7 separate regions of the Homo sapiens genome follow, and all the other regions are linked to region 6. Evidence: promoter capture Hi-C in 16 types of primary human blood cells and fetal thymus (Javierre and others, 2016). All regions are on one chromosome and are shown on one strand. Each heading gives the region's core, a stretch centred on a gene start or on the middle of the fragment in contact. The rest is flanking DNA. Distances are from core to core; before and after follow the strand shown.

Region 1 (3,779 bases), core at 536-3,035, 670 kb before region 6:
GTAAGTACAAGGATGTGGGACTAGCCCAGTAAGTACAAGGATATGGGACTAGCCTAGTAAGTACTAGGATGTGGGACTAGCCTGGTAAATGCTAGGATATGTGACTAGCCCGGTAAGTACTAGGATGTGGGTCTAGCCTGGTAAGTACTAGGATGTGGGACTAGCCCGGTAAGTATAAGGATGTGGGACTAGCCCGGTAAGTATAAGGATATGTGACTAGCCCGGTAAGTACTAGGATATGGGACTACGCCGGTAAGTACAAGGATGTGGGACTAGCCCAGTAAGTACAAGGATATGGGACTAGCCTAGTAAGTACTAGGATGTGGGACTAGCCTGGTAAATGCTAGGATGTGGGACTAGCCCGGTAAGTACTAGGATGTGGGTCTAGCCTGGTAAGTACTAGGATGTGGGACTAGCCCGGTAAGTATAAGGATGTGGGACTAGCCTGGTAAGTATAAGGATATGTGACTAGCCCGGTAAATACTAGGATATGGGACTACGCCGGTAAGTACAAGGATGTGGGACTAGCACCAGGTCTTTCTTCTGACTCTTGGCTGCATGCTCAGTCTGTATCTGTTCACACAGGAGAGGGCAGGTGCATCATGATGTGGCACCAGAGGGGGTCTGCAGGGCATGAATAGCAGTACCTCTTCTACACACAGCACTGCAGCAGGTGCAACCGCAGACCCCATTACTCTGTATCTAGGGGACATAGTATATGGCAGAAGGTTCCTAAGACCATTTTTGAAGATAAAAGTCTACACGTTCAAGTTGTCATGGAAGCTTGAAAGTGCCACATCTACACAGAAAGACTGATTGGTCTATGGGGGAAATAGTTGTTATCAAACAGGGACGAGCCAGATGGAGCTGGATCTTGCATGGGGCTCACAGAATGCAGATGTGGCTTGGAAGGGAGGGGTGCTTGGGAGGGGAGAGGGATGAGACTCTGAGCTGCCTTCCCATGAGCCCAGTGTGGACCAGGGGTAGGTGGCAGGACAGCCATGCAGCCCTTTCTAAAGCATGCTGGCAGAGGCCTTACTAAACAACCCAAGGAGCAGGCAAACAGATCAACTGAATCGCAAAAAGGCCGCTCAGCAGTGCCTGAGCTGCCACCAAATGTGGTCTTCTCGCAAAACACATGGAGGGAAATGTGCAATCCCCTTTCCAAACTTCAGAAGATTAAAAGGGTAAACACCTCCGAAGTCAACAAATGATGCCATCAGGGCAGGAGAGCCAGGGGGAAACAGGGGAGAAGCGAAAGTGGGGACAAGAGCTAGGAATTCTGGAAAGAACAGTGCTTGCCATCATAGAGAGGCTGCATAGTGGGTGGTGAAAAGAAAACAAAAATATTAAAACCAGCGAGAAGGGCTGTGGGGGAAAATGAGAAAATAAATGAAAGTGGAAGAGGATTTAATGAGTTCTGGGAAGAAAACACTTAGTTGGAGTGGGAGGCTAAAGGGATAGGGGGTGGAAAGAAACAAGCTCTTAAGAGTTGAGAATGACTGAAATGGCTCCTGACTCAACAGTTTTGAATTACAGTTTTGTATGTAAAATTAAGTTATGTATAGCCATTGCGGACAGGATGTGCAGCCTCTCTGTTGATAATGCTGTTGGCTGCTCCATGGATTTATAAGCATCATTGGATCCAGAATAAGTTGCCCTTTATCCCCCAGCCTGGAAGTGATTAGGCAGGACTTCTCTTTGGGCACTCTCAGCTGTGGCTGAGAGAGAAGGAAAGAATTAGGGAAGCAGGTGCATCTTCCTGTGGGCAGGAATCTCAGTGGTTTAACCAGCTCACTAGAGGTGGCACTCAGGGGTGAAGGTGGCAAGACCACTAGAGGAGGCGCAGCCAGGAGGCAAGTGAGCGAGGGAGGGGCCTGAGGTCTCAGGGCGATTGGGTCCACAGGTGGCACAATGCTTGTTATCTGGCCAGGAGAATTACCGGCCCAGAGACACCAGGTCCAGGGCCAGGCTGGACGAGGATGTAGACGTCATACCAGGCATTTGTGTGCTATGCCAAGAGGTGGGCAGGGTAGAGGCACTGGAACCAACAGGGCTCGGTCAGGTTGGCCTTGGGGAAAGGTCACTCTGGCAATACCGATGCCTCTCTCCTCCCAGCCCTTTAAAAATCTAAGTGGATTCACATTTCCTCAGTATCCTCTGGAGCCTAGGTCACAAGATACATGGTTCCCACCCATGCCCATGCAGAGGAGGGTTGCTGGGGGGATGTGTGCAGGCAGCACTGAAGGGGGAAGCATGGGGTGGGATTTCAGCTTAAGTGGGGAGCAGACAGACGAGCAGAGAGACCCAGGGAGCATCAGCTGATACACAGCCACGCACACACCTTCCAAGTGACAAGGGTTGTGCAGAGGCCATTTTGTGCCCTGCAGACAAGCACTGTGGACCTTAATGCAGACATTTGGCCTGATGGTTGGGGCCCCTGGGGCTGGGCTCAGGGTGGGGATTTTAATTTTTCTTTTCTTTTTTTCTTTATTTTGAGACAGGGCCTTGCTCTGTTGCTCAGACTGGAGTGCAGTGGCACGATCTCGGCTCATTAACCTCTGTGTCCTAGGCTCGATCAGTCTTCCTACCTCAGCCTCCTGCGTAGCTGGGACTACAGGTGTGCATCACCATACCCAGATAATTTTTGTATTTTCTGTAGAGACGGGGTTTTGCCAAGTTGCCCAGGCTGGCTGCAAACTCCTAGGCTCAAGCAATTCTCCTGCCTTGGCCTCCCAAAGAGCTGGGATTACAGGTACAAGCCAGGCCAGGGGTGGGAGTTTTTACAAAGCTTTTTATTTAGAAATAATTTTAGAGTTACAGGAAAATTGCAAATAAAGTACAGAGAGTTTTCACCAATACAGTATGTACATTTTAGAGACCCCCCTTAGCACGATAATGAAAACTAAGAGATGAACAGTGCAGTATCATTGAGTGAATGGCAGCCTTTATCAGATTCCAGCGCTTTTCACGCTGTGATCCTGTTTCTCTTCCAGGATCCCACCTTGCACACAGCCCTCATGTCTCCTCAGTCTTCTCCAGTCTGTAACAGTCCTCATTTTGCCCCTTTTCTTTCATGCCCTCGAGACTTAGAAGGATGCTGCCAGTTACTAGGCAGAATGTCTCAGTCTGGGTGGGTCTGTAGTTTTCTCATGATGAGGTCACACACTTCTGGCAGGAGTGTCTGGAGCTGGTGTGCCCTTCTTGGTGCAGGACTGGGGAACCCGATGCAATATGGCTTGTTACTGTCTTTCCAACGATCATTTCTGTCATAAACACTATAGGTCTCTATGTAAATTTAAGTGGCTGAGCAAAGGGCGAGGTGAAAGATGTTTTCCCTCTTTTGAGAGTGGAGCTGTGAGTACCTAAGAAGCACAAACACTATCATCCACTATCCATTGGGTTCACAGGAGCCTCAGATTGGACCCAGCTCACCTGCCTGTAAATCTGGAACTCGCTGCATGGCACTCTCCTGAGACAGGTATCCAGGTTCTTCCTGAAGTGATGGGCAGTGGCCCTTGGTGGGGCAGTCCAGCTGGCCATCCCCAGGCAGGACCTTCTGTTCCGCTCCCACTGCCTCTCCAGTGCCTGGCACACAGAGGTGCTTGGTACGGATCTGTTGGACAAGTGAACGTCAGAACACTCTTTGTGTTGAGCTGATCTCAGAGTCCCTCTAAATTCTACTCTTTGGGTCCATTTCTGTCCTCTGAATCACACACAAATACACACTCTTCTCAGTTGTAATTTTTCTTGTTAGACTTAGTTTTCTTTGCTACTAA
Region 2 (4,200 bases), core at 1,603-4,102, 630 kb before region 6:
CCATCATGCTCCTGGCTTTGAGTGAGGACCACTGACCTGAAGGGTTACTTCAGGTAAAAAGCCATTTTCATTTACATACATATTGCAAGACCATTCTTCTGACACCTGAATTCTTTCTATTTTTTCACATTACTTTTGTCTTCTGCTTAAGTGGAGCACGGACACTTCTCTGACATTTGAATGGTGACACAACGACTCAGGATTTTTAGGAAAAGGCTGTCTTGTTGTGAACACATGGTTTTCTTTCATTAACTTTGCAATGAAAGGGGTGACTCTCGCCAGACTTTAAGACATGTCTTCACAGTTTGTCATCTACAATGGGAGAAGACACTTTGGCTGTGTTCCTCCAGTTTCAGAGAAAATAACTGTGCCTCACAAGTTCGTCTACTAACTTCCAGCCTCTGGCAATAAAGTCACAATCTCTTTCTAGAGGCCCAGGCTGGGTGCTGCAGGCCACCTTCCCACAGTCACTTGGATGATTTAAGGTCACATTAGGAAAGAGATGGCAGATGCCAGTTCCCAGGTCCACGATCAAACAAAGACTCAAAGGAAAAGACTTTGGAAACAAATAAGCCTGGCTCTTCCAAAAGCCACACTTCAGCAGGTTATGGGCAGGCTCTATTGAAGGTTTCACTGCAGTCATTACTGGCTCCTGTGAAAAGGTCAAGGCCCTAATTCAGATGCTGGAGCCACTTCCCCAGCCTTGCAAAGGGAACATGGAATGCAAATATGGAATAAAGAGTAGGTTCTGCTTAGGACCTGGCCACTCAACTACCCCAGGGACTGTGGTTACCAGATAGTACCCTCCTGCCTGCTTCAGAGGTCTCCCCAGCCTGGGCATGGTGCACCCGACAGTCATCTCCAGAGAGCTGTCTCTACTGTGCTGCATACATTGCGGTCCCTCTCTGTACACCCGAATTGGGCAGGCAGGCCTTCCCTTTTCTTCTTTCCCTTTGAGAATGAAGTGTCCGTGGGAACACTGGGACGTTCAAGCCTCCCATCAGCATCTCTTCCTGCCTGTGTGAGGGCATCTGCCAGGTTAGTCTGAGAGGCCAGGACAGACCCTGCCTCCCAAGGTCTCCTTGGTTCCATGTTCCCGGCAGCAACTCCAAATGGTGGCTGACCAGTGGCAGGCCCTAAACAGTCCTGTGTGAGGGCTGGCACTCTGAGTATGACTGTGTGAGCCTCCTCAGCCGGGCCCTGGGCCCCAGAGGGGGGACTCACCTTCCACATGGGGCCCGGGATGCTTTGACCTCCACACTGCCGGCCCAGCCTCCTGGGCTTTGTGTGGCTCCGGGCGGGCGGGCCTTTCTCCACCAGGGCCTCCTGGGGCAGCAGAGAAAGCACCCCAGTCCCGTTTCCCACCCTCTAACAGCGGGGGCTTGGACTTCCCTGGGTGTCCCAGGCCCTTCTTGTTGCAGCAGGAGGATCCTGTGCGTTTGATCTAAATCTGGTCTCCCGCTGGAGAGGCCCAAACAATCTCGGTCAAAACAGTATTAACAGGAAACCTGTCTCTCAGGGCCAAGAATGCAACCAAAATAGCTCCAAGTCTTCAATTCCGATAGCAGCACCGTTTGGGAAGGCTTTACCTGAGAGAGACAATAAGTGGAACTCTGTCCCCAAATATCCCGCCCTGCCTCTGCAGCCTCCATGGGGCCTGGCGGAACACAGGGAGTGTGGGGCTGCTGGGCGCCAGGCTCCCCAGGTGGGTGGGTGGTGAGCCCTGACTGTCCTCCGAGGGTGGAGATGGGGATTCCGGCTCCAATCCCACTGTGCAACTCGAGTGTGCCACAATCAAAAGGCTTGTTTTGACTGAATTAACTGAGCAGGTTTTTTTTTTTTTTTTGAGATGGAGTCTTGCTATGCCACCAGGCTGGAGTGCAGTGGCACGAGCTTGGATCACTGCAACCCCTGCCTCCTGGATTCAAGCGATTCTCCTGCCTCAGCCTCCGGAGTAGCTGGGATTACAGGCGCCCATCACCATGCCTGACTAATTTTTTTTGGATTTTTAGTAGAGATGGGGTTTCACTATGTTGGCCAAGTTGGTCTTGAACTCCTGACCTCAGGTGATCGGCCCACCTCAGCCTCCCAAAGTGCTGGGATTACAGGCGTGAGCCACTGTGCCTGGCCCAGGTATTTTGTTTGGTGGAGATAATTGAGAATTTTAGAAGGAAAACAATCCTTGTTTTAAAGCATCTAATTTCGCTGTGAAATATTTACAAACTCAAAAAATACTACAAGGAAGAAGATACAAGTCACCCATAAGCTTACAGTACAGACAGAACACAGCTCACGCCTGTGGGAACGCTCAATATTTCTTCTATTTATGTGCACGCATCTACATAGACACCAGACATACAGCACACTTTTTAATGGGTTTGGGTATCTCTTGCTTCACTATTTTCCTCTCCCTCCAGGCAGCCCTTGCTGCCAGCTTCCAGAGGTGTCCGCTACCTCGGCAGCACATCTGCATTTGTTCAGAGGAGCTTTCATATGCAAGTGGTAGCACAACAAGGTACTTTTGTGGCCCTTCCTTTCCTTTTGAACTTGACCCTGTACCTTGCAGAACCTTCCAAATCGTACAGGCCTCCTTCTTTACGAACTTGTATAATATTCTACTGTATGATCACACCATAATTTATTCAGTCCCCTATTGTGAACATTTAGATTGTTTTGAGACTTATTTAAAAAAATACTCAGTTTCTCACTTTGTAGAAGTGGTGTCCTTGAGTCAAACACTTCTGGTGCTGAGTGCTTTGCCAGCCTGCTCTCCCCTGAGCTTGTAAACCTGCACTCCCACTTGCAATAATAGCTAGGAGAGTGTTGATCTCTCCGCACCATCACTCACACAGTTTGCCATCACAGCTTTTGAATTTTGCCAACTTGTTAAGTGAAAAATACCACTGCCTTTCTTTTAAGAGTGAGATTGAAATCTGTTCCCATATTTGAAAGCATCTGCACTTTTGCTTCTCTGAACCGTCCATGCGGTTTTGCTCACTTTTCTACTGGTTGTTGGTATCTCTCTTTTTCTTCTCTCTTTTTGATAGCACAGTTTTTATTTTTTGGCCACTACTCCTTTACTACTTCTTAGCCCAGGAAGAATAGAAGCCGCCCACAATACAGTTTCTTTTTCTTCTTTTAAATCTCCTACCTCACAGACTGTCTGCTTCCTGAAAACATGGCTTACCCATGGTTCCTCACTCAGTCTGTTTACTGATGCTTTCCCTGCCAAGTGACCAAACTAGGTCCAGAGTAGCTCTAACCACCAACCCATGTACCCAGCTCCCAGAGGGTAATTTTATTCTGCAGAGAAACTTCTAGCAATGTACCACACAAGCTGGAAGAAGCAGCATGCCAGGTGGTAAAGAAAATATTTGGTTATTTTGGCTGGAAATTCTTGTCCTGTATAAAATTGTCCGTGGTAGTTGGTGGAGGGAAAAAAGCTTTCAGAGTCTAATATTACTGATTCAGTTTCCTCACAGTTGTTCTGGCAAAGTCTATGTAATTGCAAAAATGATTTGCTTTACTTAGAGTTTTGCTCCTCATTATTCTGAGATGTGAAGTTCTAAAGAGACCGAGGTCTCTATCGGGAAAGGTTTCCTCACCATCAGTCTGAATGTGGTGTGTCATCTGAACTTCTGCCTGTGATTTTTAAATCCTTTTAAGTTTTTTTCTAAGTATTGGCCTTTTAGTTCCATCTTTTAAGAAATAACCACAGGGAAAGGACTGTAACTAGCACAGCGGACAAACATAGACACCATTTTGCAGAAATGATCAGACTTTTTCCACTCTGTCCTCCCCAACCTGGTCCCTGCCCAGTGACAGTGAGATACACGCTGTGTCTTTCTTTCTTCTCTTCTCATCTGTGCAATTCCTGTATTCAGAGGCATCAGGATGTAGAGTGTTAGGCAGCAGGCTCTCCCCCTCACTCCTCATTTTCATGGATTTTATTTGTGTTGAAGGCAGAGGCTCCCTTGCCACTGAACTGCTGACTGCATGGTTTGGATGCTCAGCCTGTGGCCTGTCGAAGGAGGATGCCACCAGGGTGGTCTGTCACTTCTGAGCCATGAGGAATGTTCAGACCTAATTGTTCTTAGTTCGAAATTCTACTGTTTGGAAAATGATTTTCTTTCTTTTTCCCCTATAAACACTAATAAAGGATTCATCATGTTATAATATTTGCTAGATAATCTTTGCTAC
Region 3 (4,323 bases), core at 143-2,642, 650 kb before region 6:
TCTTGAGTTTCACGAGTTAAATCATCCTTTCACCCAGATAATATGTTTTGTCATTTAGGATGTAGATGTTCTCTTTAGGCAGTTATTTTTGTTTTTATTTAGACAATATCAAGAGTAGGCCCTGAACACAACCTGTTAACCATATCCCAATGTCTAAAATTATCTAAAAACTCAGGCATTCTTCCATTCTTATCTAACTGAAAGCTTTCCAGCAGTTGGCACCAAGTGCGCACCCTCAGGTTCTATTCTAGTGGTGGTTGAATGTGCTCATATACCCCGTGTGAGAGCACCGTTTTAGCCCGAAATCACACTTCTCATCCTGGAGGAATTTGTTTGCATTTCTTTTGCCACTTAAAATTAGCTGTGGTCTGCTCAGCCAGGGGACAATGGAGCTTCAGGAAGGTCTGAGGCAACCTCCTCCCTGGTTCTGTCAATAGAAACCCAATGTTAAGGCAATTCCTAAACAGAGATGCACCTAGCAACTTGCTGTATGTGTTCATTCTTTATTGCTTTCAGCTTCAGGGGGTGTAACAAGTATAAATGTTTGGTTTCCTTATGAGGAAGAAGAGGAAGAAGAAGAAGGAGAAGGAGAAGAAGGGGAGAAGGAAGAAGAAGAAGAAGAAGGAGAAGGAGAAGAAGGGGAGGAGGAAGAAGAAGAAGAAAAGAGAAGAGAAGAAGAAGAAGATGAAGAAGAAGGGGAAGAAGAAGAAGAAGGAGAAGGAGAAGAGGAAGAAGAAGAAGAAGAAGAAGAAGGAAGAAGAAGAAGAAGAAGAAGAAGAAGAAGAAGAAGAAGAAGAAGAAGAAGAAGAAGAAGAAGAAGAAGAAGAAGAAGAAGACAGGCGAGGGGGAAGACCCAACTTTCTATCAAAGTTCTGTAAGAGATTTCTTCTTACAGACTGGAAGGTTTCTTCTTTTTTCTAAGCTAGAGTGCAGTGGCACGATCTCGGCTCACAGCAACCTCTGACTTCCTGTTTCAAGCGATTTTTCTGCCTCAGCCTCCTGAGTAGCTGGGATTACAGGCGTGCACCACCACACCCAGCTAATTTTTTTATTTTTAGTAGAGACGGGATTTCACCATGTTGTCCAGGATTGTCTTGATCTCCTGACGTCGCGATCTGCCCACCTCGACCTCCCAAAGTACTGGGATTACAGGTGTGAGCCACTGCGCCCAGCCAGAGATTCTTACATCTACCTCCAGTGGGAGATGAGGAAGATCATTATGGCTTAGACAATGCTGCACAGGTAGGTTGCTGGTATGTCCTGAATCCATGTGCATAAAGCACTTCCCATTTTTCTACTGCAATGCAGACTCTTCAGCTCAAGGCCTAGAGTATTTGATCCTAAGATCAAGACATTATGCCCCTTGAATAGCAGTGCTCTTTGATTTCATGTGTAACATTAACACACAGCCCTCCTATATTCCTTCACTAACTTCAGGATTGAGCAAGGTCTTTTAAATTTTTTTGGTTCAAATTATTGACCTGGGAGCAGGGTGCTAGATCTATGGTCAGCATTCAACATTTTTTTTTCAGTGGAGGTTTTTCTTTGGGCTATATTTGCCTTCCAGTATGTTTCTGCAATATGTAGTGGTAATTTTCCTTACCTTCCTCCAACTGCCTCTTATACTCATCTTTCGAAAATAATTTGCCCCCCTTAAATAGATTTTCTTAGAGGGTAGGTTGTCAGGCAATTAAAAAATATTAGATCCCAAGAAATCTATTCTGTTTGCATTGGATTTTTTTCAGATTCTGTGTGTTCGCAACAGTACTAAATCAAACTCTGATGTGGGGGAAAAAAGTATGTCAACCAAAAATTTTATATACAGCAAAATCATTCTTCAAAAACAGAGATGAAATTAAGACGTTCTCAGGTAAATTTAAGAGATGAAGTTTGTCATTAGTAGACCTGCCCCCCCACAATGCTAAAGGGAGTCCTTCAGGATAAAATGAAAGGACACTAGGTAGTAGGTCAAATCCACACGAAGAAATACAAGCACCTCATAGGTAAATATAAAATATGGTATAATGTTTTTTCTTTTTTTTCTCATTTTTGATTTAAAAGTCAATGCAATAAAGTAATAATTATAACACAGTGTTAATGGGTGTACAAAAAGATGTAATTTCTATGATGACAATTGCACAAAGAAAGAAATGAAGAGAATGGAGCTATATAGAAGCAAAAGTTTTTATATACCATTAAAATTAAGTTGATATTAACTTGGACTAGATTGTTAGAATGAAGTATAATCCCCATAGCAATCACTAAGAAAAATAACTCAAAAACAATCTTAAGGAAACAAGGGAATTAAAATGGTACATTAGAAAATATCTATTTAACATAAAAGATGGAGAGACAAACTTTACATGTTTGTAGATGAAATAATGATGTAACAGAGCTTGATCCAGTTTTTTGATGTTTGATGGTTGACAGCTTTGAAGCCTCATCCTTCCTCCTTCTGTTTCTGCTTCACATCTGGGCAAACTGATAAGAAAGCCTGGGTTCTCCCTCCTTCAGCCAGGGGAGGTTTACCACATGTAGGAACCTACACTGAGGCCCTACTCGCTAACAACCATAAATACCCCAAGCTTTTCTCTGCTCTCTCAAGCCATTTTTGGCACTGCTTGTGAGCCGCGGTGCTCTTTTCAGAAAGCCTCATTATGTGAGTCACGAACCGTTCCATTTTCTCTTGGGGTCAATATAGTATCATTAGTCTTGACATCTAAATCAAATTTTGGAAGGGATTCATCCTATGCAGGGTGAACATAAACAACTCAAGACAATTATAAATGGAGGGGGGTAAATTGACTTATAAAAAATAGATGCTTATACTTCACTTGAACTGATGAAATAATGACATCATTAGAGTGTGATATTTTGTATATATGGTATAATACTACAGCAGCCATATACACAAAAGCTACTCAAAGAGCTGCACATTCAAAAACAGTATAAAGCAAAATAGAATTCTGAAAGTTCAAGTAACCCACAGCAAAGCAAGTAAAAGAAAACAGAGAAATAAAAAACAAAACAAAATATTCAAGTCCTTTTTGATCCTGAAGTCAATTAGGTGCCGCTGTTGCTGCTCATATTGACTCTGGAACCGTAGCCAGACATGGGACTGGAGGATGAGCAAAAGATGCTGAGCAGGTCCTGAGATCCTAAGGAGGAGGAAGAGGAAGAGGAGGAATGAGTGAATCCCCTAACAACCGTGAGATAGCAATGTGAGCAGTTGGAGAAATGTGTAAAGGCCTGGAAGCAGCTAGAGCTCTGTGACAAGCGTGTTATCCTCTCGATCACATACAGAAGAGGATTGCAAGAGGAGCTCTTTGACTTCTTGCATGCAAGGGACCATTGCTTTGCCCACAAACTCCTTAACAACTTGAAATAAATGTGAGGACTTATTCACCCCAGCCTTCATCACCTGGGCATCAGGATATTTCTTTATGGTTTTGAATATGCCATTTGTTTCTTTTTTTTTTCTTTTTTAAAATTGTCATTATACTTTAAGTTTTAGGGTACATGTGCACAACATGCAGGTTTGTTACATATGTATACATGTGCCACGTTGGTGTGCTGCACCCATCAACTCATCATTTAGCATTAGGTGTTTCTCCCAGTGCTATCCCTCCCCCCTCCCCCCACCCCACAACAGTCCCCGGTGTGTGATGTTCCCCTTCCTGTGTCCATGTGTTCTCATTGTTCAATTCCCACCTATGAGTGAGAACATGCAGTGTTTGGTTTTTTGTCCTTGCGATAGTTTGCTGAGAATGATGGTTTCCAGCTTCATCCATGTCCCTACAAAGGACATGAACTCATCATTTTTTATGGCTGCATAGTATTCCATGGTGTATATGTGCCACATTTTCTTAATCCAGTCTATCACTGTTGGACATTTGGTGCTGGAGAGGATGTGGAGAAATAGGAACACTTTTACACTGTTGGTGGGACTGTAAACTAGGTCAACCATTGTGGAAGTCGGTGTGGTGATTCCTCAGGGATCTAGAACTAGAAATACCATTTGACCCAGCCATCCCATTACTGGGTATATACCCAAAGGATTGTAAATCAGACTGCTATAAAGATACACGCACACATATGTTTATTGCCATTTGTTTCTTATTTGTATAACTAAGTTCATATGAACCTCATAGATTTTGGCTTAGGCTAGTAGCTTCTAGGTAATTTGCAGTGATTCCATCTTAATAAAGTTCTGTGATCTGCAAAAAAATAAAGTGGCAGCCTTAAGTCCTAACACACCATTAATGATATTAAATATAAATAGTCTTAATGCAGCAATAAAAAGCAGAGATTGACAGTGTGAAT
Region 4 (4,200 bases), core at 713-3,212, 770 kb before region 6:
GGTGTGGTGGCACACACCTGTAGTCCCAGCTACTCGGGGAGCTAAGACAGGAGAATCACTCGAACCTGGGAGGTGGAGGTTGCAGTGAGCTGAGATTGCGCCATTGCACTCAGCCTGGGCGACAGAGTGAGACTCCGTATCAAAAAAAAAAAAAAGACCTTTTAGAATATTTATTGGTCCCTATAGAGCATCTCTGATTGGGTAACTATTTGAAGAGCCTGTTATTGATTACATGTATTGTACCATCCCTCTCTCTGTTGTTACTGACTGTTAATGGTCTTGATGAATAGCAGTTCTTCCTTTTTCTGGGCTCAAGCAATCCTGTCTCAGCTTCCTGAGTAGCTGGGACTACAGACACATGCCACCATGCTCAGCTAATTCAAAACATGTTTTTTTTCTGTAGAGATGGAGACTTGCTATGTTGCCCAGGTGGTGGGTCTGGACCTCCTGGCCTCAAGCCATCCTCCTGCCTCAGCCTCCCAAAGTGCTGGGATTACAGGCATGAGCCACCGTGCCCAGCCCAGTTCTTCCATTTGATCAATCCCTTTCTTTTTTGTCAGTGCTTTTTTGTGTCATGCTTTATTTAAAATGTTTATTTTAAATTATATATTAACAATTATTTACTAACATTTATTATTTTTGTGATTTTAATATTTTTTCTTTTCCCGAGATCATGAAGATATTCTTCTGTGTTAATTTCTAGAAGCTTTATTATTTGGTTTTTATGTTTACATTTACCATCCTCTTAGAATGGATTTCTGTGCATCATATGAGTTAGGGTTTATATATTTTTTTTCTCCTAAAATGTACTAATGCAGAATCTCCTCTTCCTCACTGCTTTGCAAGACCACCTTTGTCATAGAAGAAGTGCCCATATGTGTCTTCACGTTGCCAGCTTTACAATCAGTATCTTGAAATTTTCTCTAGTTTGATCATAATACATTAAACACATATCCCATCAAAGGCCATTGGAAGAATGTGGGCTGTTTCTGACTGGGCTTCACCTTCAACTTACATTTCCTTGAAAAAATAAGTCTTAGCTCTAATATCCATTGCATGGAATTTCTCCCCAGACTACTAAGTATAAATACATATAAATATATGTATGTGTATATATCTTTAGGTATAGATAGATACAACTTATGTTTATAAGAAAAGCGCATTTAGTAAAATAATTGGTTGGTGATTGTTAATTTTACTACAAGTTTGGCTCTATTAGTTTTTCAGAACGTTTTTGTCTGAATCATTTCGCTCTGTCTGTCTTAGGTCTTGTGTCTGTACTTTGTAAAAAGCTAGAGAAAATTCACATAGTACACCCATTGATTGGTAATTTTTTTTTTGTTTTTTGAGACAGAGTCTTGCTCTGTCACCTAGGCTGGAGTGCAGTGGCATGATCTCAGCTCACTGCAACTTCTGCCTCCCGGGTTCAAGCGATTCTCCTGCCTCAGCCTCCCGAGTAGCTGGGATTAAAGGCATGTGCTACCATGCCTGGCTAGTTTTTGCATTTTTAGTAGAGACAGGGTTTTGCCATGTTGGCCAGGCTGGGCTCGAACTCCTGACCTCAAGTAATCCACCCGTCTCGGCCTCCCAAAGTGCTGGGATTACAGGCATGAGCCACCGTGCCTGGCATAGGTATGTTGTTTTTTAGATATGTTAAAAATTTAGTTTATAGTAAAATCTTATTGGCCTGAGAACTATTTTTGTTCCTTGAATATTTTTTCTGTTTTCTTTTTTCCACTGAGCAATTAAATATTGGTTCACTCTTAAATCCTCACAGAGAACTATTTTTCTCAAGTTCTTGGTGACATCATAATGTTCTCAAATATACCACCTGCAGAAATCTGCCCTAGTAGTAATTATAGCTTGCTTTGTGACTCTGGGCTTTCTCCTCAATTTTGTATTTATTCTCACATTGTCTTTTTTCTTTTTTAGCTGTTTCCTGTGTTGTCTTCCTAACTTGGCAACTTCTTAGGGGCTCACTGCATTCTTTAAATGCAATGTTTATAGTACAGATTCTTTTCTTTTCTTTAAAATCATACTTCCTTTTCCTGCCCTTAGTCTGGCCATCTTTTCTCAGCAAGAATCACAAGTGGGACACATTAATAATTTTTCATAACCTTTAGTTATGTAGAATAGAACATTATTCAAGTCCTTGCACAACTCTCACTTTCAGCATTTCAACATAAAGAACATTTGAATTTTTAAAATTTTCTTTCAGTCGAGGATTACTGGTTTGAAACAAAGATGTCAGCCCTAAAGCAAAGCACTTCTGAAGCATCTGTTCTGGGAGAGCGAACGAAAAGTGTCATGATGGAAAAAGGCCTGGACTGGGAGGGCAGAAGCTCCACAGAGAAGAACTATAAGTGCAAGGAATGTGGGAAAGTCTTCAAATACAATTCGTCCTTTATTAGCCACCAGAGAAATCACACCAGTGAGAAACCACATAAATGTAAAGAATGTGGGATCGCCTTTATGAACAGTTCATCCCTTTTAAATCACCATAAGGTTCATGCAGGCAAACAGCCTTATAGATGTATTGAATGTGGGAAGTTCCTGAAGAAGCACTCAACGTTTATCAACCATCAGAGAATTCATTCTAGGGAGAAACCCCACAAATGCATTGAATGTGGAAAAACTTTCAGAAAGAACTCAATCCTTTTAAGTCATCAGAGAATTCATACTGGCCAGAAACCCTACAAATGTAATGACTGTGGGAAAGCCTTCGCTCAGAATGCAGCTCTTACTCGTCATGAAAGAATACATAGTGGAGAGAAGCCTTTTAAATGTAACAAGTGTGGGAGAGCTTTCAGGGATAATTCAACTGTGTTGGAACATCAGAAAATCCATACTGGTGAGAAGCCATATCAGTGTAATGAATGTGGAAAAGCCTTTAGGAAGAGCTCAACTCTTATTAGTCACCAAAGAATGCATACTGGGGAGAAACCCTATCACTGCAGTAAATGTGGAAAATCTTTCAGGTATAGCTCATCCTTTGCTGGTCATCAGAAAACTCACAGTGGAAATAAACCGTATCAGTGTCGTGACTGTGGGAAGGCCTTTACAAAGAGCTCAACCCTTACTGGACATCAGAGAATTCATACTGGAGAAAAACCCTATCACTGTAAGAAATGTGGGAAAGCCTTTCGGCACAGCTCAGGCCTTGTTGAACATCAGAGACTCCATACTGGGGAAAAACCTTATAAATGTAATGAATGTGGGAAAGCTTTTCCCCGAAGTTCAGCCCTTAAGCAACATAAGAAAATTCATAATAAAGAAAGAGCCATGAAATGTAGTTAGTGTGGCAAATTGTGCAGAGTAGTTTATTCCTTCTGACCATCATAGAGGAGACATTAAATAAATTATGCATTTAACAGAAATACTCTGTACTTCTGAGAGAACACATCACTTGTGAGGATATTCATTGTGAGGTTCTACTAGTGAAATATTTGAAGAAACTAAATGTATGTCAGTATGGAAGTAGTTATAGCATACTGTGTGCTAATTGAAAAGAATGAGGTGGAGCTGTAAATACTGTACAAAGCCAGGCATGGTGGCATATGCCTGTAGTCCCAGTTACTTGGGAGGCTGAGACAGGATTGCTTAAGCCCAGGAGTTTGAGTCTGTAATGCACTATGATTGTGCATGTGAATAGCCACTGCACTCCAGCCTGGGCAACATAGCAAGACTCCATCTCTAAGTAAAAAAATACAACAGTAGAAATATACCCATGATAATATACCCAATATACCCTTGTTAAAGAAGCAAGTTTCAGGAAATCTATATTATATGCATTCAAAAAGACCTGGACAAATAAAGACCAATCTTAACAGCAGTTATCTCTCTCTCTCTCTCTTTTTTTTTTTTTTTAAAAGAAACTAGCTCTTACTCTGTCACCCAGGCTGGAGTGCCATGTGATCATAGCTCACTGTAGTTTTGAACTTGGGCTTGAACAACCTTCCCACTTCAGTCTCTGGAGTAGCTGGGGCTACAGGCACGTACCACCACACTCAGCTAACAGCAGTTATCTTTGATGAGGATGTAGTATAGGTTGAGCATCCATAACTGGAAAATCTGAAATCTGAAGTGCTCCAAAATCCAAAATTTGTCTGAGCACCAACAGGTACAAAATTCTACACCAGACCTTATGTGATGGGTTGCAGTTAAAATGCACCCCCGGCCGGGCGCGGTGGCTCACGCCTG
Region 5 (3,756 bases), core at 60-2,559, 740 kb before region 6:
CAGATAGTGGCAGCATTAGATTCTCATAAGAGTGTGAACCCCATTGTGAACTGTGCATGCAACGGATCTAGGTTGTGCACTCCTTATGAGAATTTAATGCCTTATGATCTGTCACTGTCTCCCATCACCCCTAGATGGGACTGTCTAGTAGCAGGAAAACAAGCTCAGGACTCCCACTGATTCTACCTTATGGTGAGTACCTTATAATTGTTTCATTATATACTTCAATGTAATAATAATAAAGTGCACAATAAATGTAATGTGCTTGGATCATCCCAAAATCATCCCCCTCTGTGGGAAAATTGTCTTTATGAAACTGGTCCCTGGTGCCAAAAAGGTTGGGGACCACTGATTTATAGGATCCACTAGAAAGGATGGAATGGTGTCTTACCAAGAAAACCAAAATCTCTATCATTCATCATTTCACTTACATAAATGCTCAGTATGAAAAATTATAGAGATGGCTAAGATTTTAAAAAATGGAAATGGAAATTTCCCCTCAAAACCAATTTCTCCTCTGCAGCCTTCTTCAAATCTCATCCCCTGGAGGTCAGAAAAAAGGATGGGTTAGAATTCCAAATTTCTTGGTGTGTGTGCAGGAGGAAGAGGATAGTATTGTTGGAAAGTGGAAGTTCATTATTGACTACAAACTACAAGTCTGGGTTCAGTAATAACACTTATATCCTTTCTAGATAACCCAACCCCAAGATATTGCTGCTGTTACCAAAGAGGGAGTGAAGGTCTCTGAAAATGTAGGAGTCCCTTTAGTAGATGGGGAGAAATGGGTTAAAGATTTTTAAAAATTGCACAGACAGTAGTTGTTTGCTCTTTGGTTACAGGTGAATTATCTCTATCCTAGTTAGGAGTGGAGGACTGAAGTATGTCTCAATGCACAAACTAAGGCTGTGCAGGCTTGGAAAGAAATTTTCTTTTGTAATAAAAGGCTAGGCCCCTTGCTATAGACATGAGTGATTAGTTACAATAGGTTATTGGGGGTATCATCCAGGTAATGAAATGTTCAACAAGAAGATTATAAAGGTAACTAGATTTGCCCCATGGATTTTGCCCAGTGGTTTTGAAGGCAAAACAAGATTAATTTGAATATGTAAGGAAGAAAAATAACTTGGGATTGATGAGGGGCTGATTTTTTACATTTATAAAAGCCTGATGGTGTCAACTACAAATTTAAAATCTGTATTGGGTATACACAGAACAATCTCTAGTGTGGCACCAGATTAATGGGGGTACCTTGAAAAATCAGGTCAGAATAAAGTGACAGAAATTATAAAACATACATGATAATGATAATAAACAAGACATTTATTTTTCATACTCTTTTGGGGGAAAGGAAAAAAATCAGTTTGCCCTACCCAATGATGGTCTTTCTGAAAGATTCTCCATTCATTCCATAGAACTGGATAGGTTGCTTCATCTCAGAGGATTTTGTACTCTTAATTCATAAAGAGAACTTCTCTTCAGGAAAGTGGTCAAAGGGTGAGCCTCTGTGAGCAGCTTCGCTGGTGCACAGCCAGACTCCCTCTCTGGGTGAAGCTTTTTCCACACTGGCCGCACAGATAGGGTGTCTCTCCTGTGTGGATTTTGCCATGCAGAATACAATTCCCCCTGGTGTGGAAACTCTTCCTGCACTGGGTACAGGCATAGGGCTTCAGGCCTGTGTGGACTCTGATGTGAACAATTAAGCTTCCTTTCTGACTGAAGGCTTTTCCACACTGATCACATCTATAGGGCTTCTCACCACTGTGAACTCTCCTGTGAACAGCAAGGTTACTCTGATTCCTGAAGCTTCTCTGACAAATAGCACACTCGTAGGGTTTCTGTCCAGTGTGGAGTCTCTCGTGGACAGCGAGACTACCTCGTTGACTGAAGCTTTTCCCACACTCCTTGCACTGATAAGGCTTCTCTCCCGTGTGTATCCGTTGATGTGTAACAAGATTGCCTTTGGCCCTGAAGCTTTTTCCACAGTGGGTGCACTCAAAAGGCTTTTGACCAGTGTGGATTCTCTCATGTAACGTTAGACTACCTTTTTGCCGGAAGGATTTTCCACACTCCTGGCACTCATAGACCCTTTGTCTCACTCCAGGTGAATCTTCCTGTAGTGTCTTCGAATCTGGGGATTTTTGTTCCAGCTTCTCTCTTCTGAAAGAATTTTGGATATCCCAGCTTGAGGATCCTGTAGCCTCAGAGTGGTCATATTTGTGGTGGGCTTCAGTCATCACATCTGATAAAATGAGAGGGAAGTCATATAAGAAGCACCAATAATGCTGAGTTAGAATAGGGAAAAAGAAACATAATACTTTGAGTGCTTATGATGTGCCAGGCCTTATTCTTTGCATAGACAATGCAATCCTGAAAACAATGCCATGAGAGTGATACAGATAATGGGAGCAAAGGGAGCCTGTCAAAGGTCACAGAGCTAGGTAAGTTAGAGCTGACTCAAATAGGCATTCTCCATAGCAGTGTACTGCCTCTAAATTTAATTTAGGCCAACAAATAACCTTGTAAGATAGACATGGTTTTCTCTATTTTACAGGTCAGAAAACAGGCTCAGAAAATTTAGAAAACTATACAGAATCACACAGAGCCCCATACCCAACTTTTATCTGACTCCAAAACAGGTGTGGATCCAGGCTATATAAGGCCTAAAACTTTCCCATTTTAGAGGCACCCTTTTAAGAAAATGTATAAAATTAAGCACAGGGTCTTGGAGAGACCAATCCAAGTGAGGGGTCCTAAAACTGAAGCTGCATTTGCTTCTTCAGAAATCCACCTCTGTCCAATCTGTTCTGACAATAGAATAAGCACCATGACCTCAGAAAATATGTAGCACAATCCTGGGTACTTTACATCTATCATTGCTAATCCCTGCAACCCTACAAGATAGAACTTATTGTCCTATTTTACAGACGAACCTGGAGCTTAAGGAAGTTAAATAACCTGTCTGATACTGCAGATCTAGCCATGGCAATTATAGAATCTGATCCAAGGAATTTTTCCCATTAAAATCCTTGCTATTTTCAGTCTACTAAGCTATGGCAAAACTGAAATCAATTTTGGTTTGGAAGTTATTCTCTATGCAGATATTGACTTTTTTTTTTCCGAATACTGCCCTGCATCTGAGCCTCCTGGTGCACTTTAAATATGGGTCCATTCATCACCATTAACAGTTTTCTTGGTGTCTGTCACTCCAGGGTAATCTTCTCCTTGTTCCCTTGCCTTATTCAGAGACAGTGCTGAGATTTAAGCTGCTCATTCATTCTCAGAGACTACTTCAACGCTACCTCCATATCAAGATGGTTCTCTTGCTCTGTTTCTACTATTACTTCTAACTCCAGCTCACAGGCTTTTCTTATAACCCTAGGAACAGCAAGCTCTACCAAAGCAAGGTCTCCTCTGCTTCCTCAGACTGCCGACCAGTGCTGAGAACAGGGACACTGAATATCTGTGAGCTGAGCGCATCCAGCCATCAACTGACTCACTCACTGAAGAACGCTACATTCTGGGCATATCTTCCATGACAGTCCAGCAGGGTAGCTGTTGGAAATCCAAACATGTCCACTCCTGCTTACGACCTCAGTCACCACCTCTTCATATGATTCTTCCATGGGCTGTTCCTGAGCACCTGAGGGAGAAAAACAAACAGAAACAAACAGGAAAGGGCAGAATAATTGATATGTGAGAAGGAAAAAGTCAACAGTTGTTGAGACATAAGTGAATGTAAGAAACCTAGATTGTTTG
Region 6 (3,912 bases), core at 677-3,176:
GCTTGAGGACTAAGTGTGGGGATAGGGGGCACATAGGCACTGTGAGGTGAGGGGAAAACAAAACAAAACAAAACATTCTGGCGATGTGTGTAAGGAGCAGATCTGCCTGGAGCCCAGGCTCCTGCCCTGGTTACTTGGCTGCCAATGGGGCAACTCTGAGGGCCATGTCACCCTTCCCAGGCCAGGAGGAGTCTGGGATGAACCCCACGTCTCTGTGCTTCCCCCAGGTCAGTTGCACCCATAACTCAAAGACCGAGGTTCCTCATTCCAATCCTCTCTCCAGCCCTCCGGGGAGGGGGCAGCACCATTTCCCAGAGCGGCGCACTGTGACACCTCCGCGCTCATCCCACCAATCAGTCAATAACTGCCCAAACCAGAGACCTTACAGGAACAGAAGAATATCCAGCAATAAAAACTAGAAACATGCCCCATGACTTGCGGGGGGGGGGGGGGGTCAGTGTGCAGACACAGCCTCAGGGACTTTTCATCAACGACGAACATTCCCAATTGCCTTCAGTCTGTGTCCTTAACACTTAGGCAGTCCGCCACGACCCCAGGCTGCCCAGCTTCTCCAGCCCGACTCAGCTGCGCTGGTCCTGCTCACACCAGCGCACAGTCCAAGCCAGCTAGGACGCCGGGGCCACGTCTGCACCAACCCAGCCAAGGGCTCGAGGCGCGCTGGGCCTGCACAGCCCGCGGCTGCAAGAGCACTCAGAGTGTCCTTCAACTCTTTGCAGGAAACTTCACAGCCAAGGAAGCTCAGCGGCCTGAGCCACAGGGTTTTGTTTTGTGTGTTCAGAGGCAACAGTTTATTTTGGTTTGCATCGGTGTCCTGTGACAGCGCAGCGAGTTTCTCTTCAGCGAAAGAAAAGAAAAAAGCCCTCTCCCAGTGAAACGGGACACCACGGTTCCCAGTGGCCCAGGGCCTTGGAGATTGAACTTTGCTGCAGCTCTCATTCTGGGGCAAAGCGCTTGGCCAGCTGGTGACAAAAGAGCCTGTCTGCAGGTGTGTTTGGGGAGCTGGGGAGGGGGCGTGTGAGGCTCGGAGGGTCCCTGGGCCTCTCTCAGGTGAACCCGAGAAGAGACAGGAAGACAGCGGCTGGACGCGCGCCCAGGTCCGCGTCGCTGCGGACCGCGGAGCTGTGCAGAAGCGCGGCCTGGCGGGTGGCACAAGCCCGACAGCTGCGCCGCGCAGCCCGCCCGCGCCTGGCCAAGAGCCCCGCGAGGGTGTGGGGAGAGGATCGGCTTCGCAGGGAGCGGAGGCTGCGCGGCTGCATCGGACCTCACAGCCTCAAGTCGCGGCATGAGGCGAACTTTGCAAAGCGCGCTCTCGCCATGCACCGCCCGACCTCCAGCACTGTGCGCAGCAGGACCTCGGAGCCCATTCGCCTGTGGAAACCGAGCCCGCAGCGGGAAGGCAGTGGGTGGAGGGTGGGCAGGCAGGGGTCTGGGGTCCGCGGCTCCCCACCCTCGCGCCTTCCCGCGCCAGTCCCGAACGCTCTCTTGGGGCGTTCCTGCCCAGTTGTCCCGGCTGACCTCGCTCTGCAGCCAGCTTGAGGTCAGGCGGTCGCTCTCTGCAGGTCACAAACCCTCGGCGCAAAAGTAGGGCTTTGAACGCGACACCGCACCAGAGCGCCCAGCTAAGCGAGCTGCCTCCACCCCCACTGTGTCGGGCGGCGCAAACTGCGGGCGCAGGCAGAGGAGCCGCGGCTCTGCGCCGGGCGGGAGCCGAAGCCCAGAGCCTCGCCAGGGCCTCCCCGCCGAGCGCACTTACCGTCGCTGAGGCAGAGCGCGGTCAGCACGAGGACCAGCACGACCACGACCTTGGCGTTCATGGCGCGGGCGGGCGGGCGGGCGGGCGGACGAGCGCGGGTCGGGGGCCGGACGCCGAGCGGGCAATGCGGCTGACGGAGAGTGAAAGTGCGGCGGTGGGAGGCGCGCGCCGGGCGCTTTAGAGGGGAGAGCCAGGCGGGGCGGGGCGGGGCGCGCGGTGAGGGGCGGGCCCGGAGCCGAGTGCTGGCCGTGGCCGGGGTCTCTGACGCGCGACTCCCTCGGCGGCACCCCCCACCCATCCCCTTCGCCCCTCCTCCGCTCCCTCTGTGCTCCCGAGGCGCAGTGCGCTCCGGCCTTTGACCTTCTCAGGCTCCGCTGGGCCCCGCACCGCTGGCCCGGTCTGCAGTGAGGTCCGCAGCCTGAGCGACGCCGGCTGGAGGGCCGCTTATTGTCCCTGTGACAGGGCCCCACTGGAGAGACTGAGGACCTTAGGCGTAAAGTGGGGCGCGCGTGGAAAGCTGCGGGACGGGGCCTTTCGATGGCGGGAACTGAATGAGAACCAATGAAAAGCAAACAAGTTAGTCCCGGGCGGAGGGCCTGCTGGCGGTGGCGGCCCAAGGCAGCCGAGGGGGTCCTGCTTTCTGTGCGTGGGGGCTCAAGCTCGCCACCTGCCCGGCTTGCGGCGCAGCCGCCGGCAGAGCTCGATCTGCGGGAATGAGACCCGTCTTTGCAGTCAGCGTGGCTCGGACTCCAAGCCCACGGCGCCACCAGCCGAGCCTCAGTTTCCTCGCCTGTACAAACAAAGCAGAAGGCGCCGGCGGCTCTCAGTAAAAGCGAATGTAGCCTTTGTACTTCCGACCTCTCAATGGTGAAATGAGCTAATCACAGGCCCACCCCGCGGAGTGGGACGGGAGATTCAATGAGACCCGCCCCACGCCGCGAAATTCTCTGCATCGTGTCTGACAAGCAGACAGTACTCAATAAATGGTAGCTGTAAGTAAGTCCTTTAAACCTAAGTACTTACTGCCTTACCCAAGAAAAGCTCCGTGCGACCCAAAGAGCTGAGAACTCCCCCACCCCGACCTCCGACTCCTAGGACAGTACTACTGGCGTCTGCCTTCTGGGTCCAGAAAACTCTTCCCACGGAGCCGTCCCTCGGCGGTGCTTAGCCCTCCGGATACCCCCGAGACATCCCAGATGGCCCCAGTCCGGTGGCGAAGGGAGGGTGCAGGTCGGCACCCAGGAGACGTGGGGGTGAGGAGAGCGCCCCTTTGGGCCTCGCTTTGTGACCGCAGGCTGCCCCAGCCACCTCTCTGTGTCCTTCCCAGCACAGCGTCCAGCGAAGTGGGGTCAGTCGCCGCGTCCATCCAGGGGCCTGCCCTGGGGACACGTCCCTGTCCCTGGGGAGTCCTGGCCGTCGGGGAGTGGGCGGTCAGCGGCTGCATTAGGCGGGAGCGGTCAACAGGAGGCTGCGAGGGCTCCGGAACTCCGCTGGTGGGAGTAGGTGTCTTCTGTGCATTTTTTTTCCAAAACCACTTTGGCCGTTAGATGGCTGTGGGCCGGCACTCCATCCATCCATCCATCCATCCATCCACCCACCCACCCACCCACCCACCCACCCTGGGCACTGGGCTTGGAGCCGGGAACCCCACTGACTTGGCCCTGCTCTTAAAGAACTGAAGGCAGTGAGGTCCAGTGAAGAAGGCAGCCGTCGGGCGTCCCCAGGCCTTTGCTGGGCTGGGCCGGGGAGCCTGGCCGCTCACCGGCCGCAGCGCTGGGGCTCCGGCGCCCTCTGGTGGCGGCGCCTCCCTCCCCGCTCCCAGAGCTCTGGCCAGCTCCATTCCTGCGCAGCTGATGAAACCCGGGAGGGCGAAGGGGTCCGCGGGAAATCTACACCCGGGTGGAGGGGCGCCCTGGAGCTCGGAGATCCGACCCTGCGGGAGCCGCGCGCAGCCTCGCTTGCCCTTAAATCTGGCCAAAGCAAACGCCATCGCCTCTCGCTTCTTCTTCTTCTTTTTTTCTTTGCCACAAAATCAGGTGGGCAGCTGGACCTAGGATCTGTCCCAGAAGCCTGAAAGGCCCGCGTGGGCTGAGTCGAGGGCGAACCAGGGATTCAGGCCTGGCCGCTGCCCCTCCCGC
Region 7 (4,195 bases), core at 1,519-4,018, 590 kb after region 6:
AAGGCTGCCCCGGCTAAAGGCTGCCCCACACGTTTGCCCAAAGTCAGGGACCTGCAGGTTTGAGACCACCACAGAGACACAGTGGGCTGTGACAGATACAAACATTTGTCTACAGTGCTCATAAATGCAGCTCCAAGTTCACATGCGCAGATTCCCAGCCCTTGCAGGGTGTGAAGAACATTGCTGATGTCCCCATTTTATAGATAAGGAAACTGGGTAATTGCTTGTCTGAAACTTTTTCCTTTTAATATGGTTTACATTCTATCTCCAGAGAAAACACACTTAACAGAAGACAGAAAACATTTAACAAATCCAAAGCAATTAAAAATAGCCACAAAAAAAGAGAATAACCTAGACTGACAGCTCACAGAGCAAGGAGGTGGCAGAGACCTGCCCAGGTGAGCTTGGCTGTTGCCCCCAGCTCAATCTTCCTCCTCTCCTCTCTCTGTCCCTTCACCTCTGATCAGTCCCAGCCTGATTCCCGTTCCCTGATGCCTCACCTTCTTGCTGCCAGATGCCTCTAGGAACTAGGGTCCTTCAGACTCCAGATGCCCTGACCTGGGCCTTAGGACATCTTGACTTCCCCAGTGGACAGCTGGACAGTGCCCTGCTCTCACCCACAGCTGGGACCCTGACCATGCCATGAGGCCCCTGTGTGGAAGTGGTGTAGGGGTGGGGATGGTAGCACTGAGTGGTACAGATTCTATCTTGGCCCTCATCATGGGGGAACTCTCCCAATGCCACCACAGGACGTATGAGTTGTAGCCAGCAGAGTGCCCCAGTGGTGCCAGGTGACAGTCCCCCGGAATACATTAGTGCATTTGCTAAGACTCCATGTGTTCTCTTGGGCCTCACAGAACATGGGCTTTGAGGGTGGGAGCCAAGAGGCAGACTTGGGAGTGCCCGAGGCCTTGTTCTGAAACACCTGGGGGGCTGACACCCCCACTACCCTCACACCCCTACCACCAGTTTCCCCACCAGCGATGATGGTAGCTACTCAGCCAGTGGGCTCCTATATGCGGTTACACGTCAGAATGGCCTGGGAGGCAGGTGCCAGTAATTATCCCTATATTACCCATGAGAAACTGAGGAACACAGATGTTAAGTAAGTTGCTCAAGGTGATCAGCCAGCAAGGGTCAGAGCGAACGGGATTGGTAACATCTCCTCATGTGAAACAGGCTGTTATCATATTCAGAGGGGGTCGGTCTCACTGTGAACTGCCCAAGCAGGGGCCTCTGCAGAAAAGCATTTCCCTTTCAGAGACCTGCCAGGGGCAGTGACCACCATGGAGGAGACGAGAGGAGATGCAGACCCAGCATGCTCTCTACAGAAGCCTTTACTGGGGAGGGGTCAGAGTTCATGGATCACCGGGAGGTGCGAGTAGAGTGTTCTGAGGACACTGCTGGGGCGGGGGCGGTGGCGGGAGGCCATGGCTTGGGCAGACTGCCCAAAAGTCCAGCTTCTTAGGTCAGAGCTCTGCTGCCCATCCTGCGGTGGTCTTGCCAGGGAATGCCCAGGCATCCTGGCTTCACAGAGCCTCCCTCTGGGGGCCCCCATGGGCTTGCTGCTGTCCATCTGTCTATGTGGACCCCAGAGGCCAGCAGAGGGGCCAGTCCTCCTTGGCAGGTCCCTCTGGCTTGGCTGCTTTTCCTGGGACTCCCCAAAAAGCCAGTCCAGGGGGTCCACAGTATCAGCCATGGGCAGTGTGGGCTGCTGGCCACTGAAACGTGCGGTGATGTCTCGCAGGGACACAGCAGGGCGGCCCTTCCGGCAGGCCTGGGCTGGCCTGTGGGGTGGCCTGGGTTGGCCCTGGGCCGTGGCCTTGTCCAGCACAGAGGTGGGCTGTGCCAGTCGAGATATAGACCTCACGTAGTCATCCAGGCTAGGAGAGGGTGGGGGCTCCTGTCCAGGACCCCCAAGCAGCATCTCCTCCGTGGTCTCCCGAATTGTGGGCAGATGGGCCACGGAGAGCAGAAGCCGGGACCTCATCACTCTGGCGAGAGGAGGTGGCAACCTGTTGGGAAACAGAAGCCTGGTGGTGAGGGCCTGCCATGCGTCCCACCGCCCCTCAGCGTCACCACACTCCTCTGGGGCTGCCTGTAGGAATCCGGTGCCCTGAGAGCAATTTGAAGTCTACAGAGCCCAGACCAGAGCTCCGACTGCTGGGATCTTTTCTTCCTGTTCAGGTTAAAAACCCCAAAGGCTTAAGATTTTATCATTATCGTTTCAGAATGTGCACAGATAAGAGAACCTAACCTAACAAACACTGGTCAGAGGAAGGCTGGGTTTAAAACCAGGATCGGCCACGCACTGACCATGGGACCTTTGGCAAGGCCACCTCTCCAGGCCTCCACTTACCCATCCATAAAACAGGGTTATAAATACCCCTGGCCGGGATGTTGTAGGAAATGCATGAAATAACCCCTGAATCCCTTTATAAATGCAAAGCCCTCTACAGACAGCCCTGGTCTCTAACCCATAGGGAGGCTGTGCAAGTTCAGGCTGGGAATTGCCCTCAAAAATAAACAAAGCCCTTGTGTTTTGTCTCAAACCCAAGGGCAGCTGCTCTCTCTTACCTGGAGCTGAGGAGGTCTGGGGGTGGCAGGAGAATGGATGAGCAGGGACAGTCCAGTCCAAAGGAAGCCCCTGGGAAGCTTGGGGGCCGAAGGGTGGAGGGTCCGGCAGGGGGTCCAGCGTGGGGTCGCTGGGAGGAGGACAGTGCACTGAGTCTCACAGTCCACCGTAGCAGGCTCTTCCCTGAGCAGTGTGAAGAACCTTCGCAGGCAAGCTGCTTTTATACCTTCCCAGCAGCTATCAATCACTGTCACGAGGGCCAAAAATAGCCTGCTCGGAAGGCTGTCTTAGGAAAACAGCTTGGTGGGCGGGGCCTGGCCCAGCTGCCAGCTTGGAGGTGTTTTTCTGCCTGTAGGAGGCTGGGGAATGTTTACGCTGCAGGGCAGGAAAGGGGTGGGTTCACTGCTGGTCAAGTAGGGGCACTGGGAGAGGGAGGGGTTCCACTGGGCCCTCACAGGTAGCCCCAGGGCCACCCCTGCCCCAAAGCTTGTTTCCCACTCTGTGTTACACCACCCCATCATGACTCCTGTGAAGTTGGGCCAGGTCCTTGGCAACTTTGATGAAAAATCAGCAGCACAGGACCCCAGTCTGGAGGCAGCTGAGGCTGGGTCCCTAGGCCTGCTCCTAGGAGAGACACACCCTGCTCGCAAGGGACCAAGGGCGGTCTGCGGGGTCTGACCCTGGTCTTCTTACACCCCAGATGGGGTGCTTTCGGAGGATTTGTTTGTTTACTTGTTCACCAGATATGAGGTGCTAGTGTGTGCTGTGAATGCACTAAGCACAGCAAACGTAGCAGCGGACAAAGGTGTGGCCCCCTGGAGCTCATATTCTAGTAAGGGAGGAGATCAAGCCAGAGATGAATGGGTGCTGTGATTCAGGCAACAGCAAGAACTGCCTGAAGGAAAGCAGCGCAGTGGCATGCTGTGGTGGGCTGCCGCCACAGGTACAGTGGTCAGGGGTGTCTTCCCTAAGAGCAGATATTGGAGCAGAAACCTGAAAAAAATGGGAAAATGCACATTCCAGGTGGCAGGGGCAGCACGTGCAAAGCCCCTGTGGTGAGGGCGCGCCGGACAGACATGCTCAGGGCACAGCAAGGGGCCTGCAGACTGGCCCATGTAGGAGGGGGTCAGTGGACCTTGGGGTGGATGCTGTGTTTCCCTCTAGGAGGGAGGGAAAGACTGCAGGGTTTGAACAAGGGCACTGCAGTCTGGCTTCTGCTTCAAAGGATCGCTGCAGCTGCTGGGACTGGGCTGGGGCTGGGGCTGGGGGGCTGCCAAGGAGCACCTGGGCAACATTAGAAAGCCACTGCATCTGTCCAGGAGTGACCATGCCAGCAAAGGAGGCTGCCAAGGATGAGAGAGGCAGCCCCTGGGAAGCTCCTGCACTCCCCAGACAGGCCACAGATCCTCTGCCCCAGCCACAGCCCCACCTGGAACACGCCTGCCTGTGCTGCAGGTGGGGGAGAAAGAGGAGTCTTGAGAGTTAGCCCAAGCCTGAGCTCTGAGTACTGGGCAGACCCCAGACTCCCTAGGCAAGCAAGAGGGACCGGCAGTCCCAAGTTCTTGAATTCTAGGTGGGAACTCCATGTGCACAAAGGCATCGGGGCAGGGAGTGCCTGAG

What was found. The method cuts DNA at HindIII sites, captures the fragments that hold promoters and counts their contacts. A CHiCAGO score of 5 or more calls a contact.
Region 1: a contact is called between a fragment that was not itself captured here and the fragment with the promoter of CXCL12 in region 6, in 11 of 17 cell types (naive CD8 T cells, total CD4 T cells, monocytes and 8 more). The highest score is 9.3, in naive CD8 T cells.
Region 2: a contact is called between a fragment that was not itself captured here and the fragment with the promoter of CXCL12 in region 6, in 1 of 17 cell types (M1 macrophages). The highest score is 5.6, in M1 macrophages.
Region 3: a contact is called between a fragment that was not itself captured here and the fragment with the promoter of CXCL12 in region 6, in 3 of 17 cell types (M1 macrophages, neutrophils and erythroblasts). The highest score is 5.9, in M1 macrophages.
Region 4: a contact is called between a fragment that was not itself captured here and the fragment with the promoter of CXCL12 in region 6, in 1 of 17 cell types (megakaryocytes). The highest score is 5.3, in megakaryocytes.
Region 5: a contact is called between the fragment with the promoter of ZNF32-AS1 here and the fragment with the promoter of CXCL12 in region 6, in 6 of 17 cell types (erythroblasts, megakaryocytes, fetal thymus and 3 more). The highest score is 8.5, in erythroblasts.
Region 7: a contact is called between the fragment with the promoter of DEPP1 here and the fragment with the promoter of CXCL12 in region 6, in 1 of 17 cell types (M0 macrophages). The highest score is 5.3, in M0 macrophages.

Annotation. Positions count from the first base shown.
Region 1 is chr10:43,709,869-43,713,647 of GRCh38, forward strand. No RefSeq gene overlaps it. Among named protein-coding and RNA genes, the nearest start is that of ZNF32, 63 kb to the left of the region's middle. The HindIII fragment of the contact is 2,008 bases long and covers 782-2,789 here.
Region 2 is chr10:43,752,288-43,756,487 of GRCh38, forward strand. No RefSeq gene overlaps it. Among named protein-coding and RNA genes, the nearest start is that of LINC02658, 25 kb to the right of the region's middle. RefSeq lists an enhancer at 1,462-2,173. The HindIII fragment of the contact is 1,177 bases long and covers 2,265-3,441 here.
Region 3 is chr10:43,729,222-43,733,544 of GRCh38, forward strand. It overlaps the pseudogene UQCRHP3. Among named protein-coding and RNA genes, the nearest start is that of LINC02658, 48 kb to the right of the region's middle. The HindIII fragment of the contact is 2,381 bases long and covers 203-2,583 here.
Region 4 is chr10:43,614,073-43,618,272 of GRCh38, forward strand. ZNF485 (zinc finger protein 485) reads left to right here. Exons shown (of 5, transcript NM_145312.4): 5 at 2,219-3,832. The coding sequence ends at 3,297. Among named protein-coding and RNA genes, the nearest start is that of ZNF485, 9.7 kb to the left of the region's middle. The HindIII fragment of the contact is 2,517 bases long and covers 705-3,221 here.
Region 5 is chr10:43,642,563-43,646,318 of GRCh38, forward strand. ZNF32-AS1 (ZNF32 antisense RNA 1) reads left to right here and starts at 1,310. Exons shown (of 2, transcript NR_047557.1): 1 at 1,310-1,545; 2 at 2,288-2,485. ZNF32 (zinc finger protein 32) reads right to left here. Exons shown (of 3, transcript NM_006973.3): 2 at 3,502-3,640; 3 at 1,300-2,239. The coding sequence starts at 3,571. The coding sequence ends at 1,488. The region is part of intron 1 of ZNF32-AS3 (ZNF32 antisense RNA 3); the gene reads left to right. It overlaps ZNF32-AS2 (ZNF32 antisense RNA 2), which reads left to right and starts at 3,380. Exons shown (of 3, transcript NR_047558.1): 1 at 3,380-3,735. RefSeq lists an enhancer at 3,074-3,756. The HindIII fragment of the contact is 1,613 bases long and covers 1-1,549 here.
Region 6 is chr10:44,383,171-44,387,082 of GRCh38, forward strand. It overlaps CXCL12 (C-X-C motif chemokine ligand 12), which reads right to left and starts at 1,927. Exons shown (of 3, transcript NM_199168.4): 1 at 1,775-1,927. The coding sequence starts at 1,835. RefSeq lists enhancers at 1-176, 177-870, 871-1,562 and a silencer at 3,456-3,665. The HindIII fragment of the contact is 14,357 bases long and covers 1-3,912 here.
Region 7 is chr10:44,976,041-44,980,235 of GRCh38, forward strand. It overlaps DEPP1 (DEPP autophagy regulator 1), which reads right to left and starts at 2,769. Exons shown (of 2, transcript NM_007021.4): 1 at 2,578-2,769; 2 at 88-2,015. The coding sequence starts at 1,990. The coding sequence ends at 1,352. All of the region lies in intron 3 of RASSF4 (Ras association domain family member 4), which reads left to right. RefSeq lists enhancers at 1-149, 2,741-3,035, 3,665-4,195. The HindIII fragment of the contact is 406 bases long and covers 2,654-3,059 here.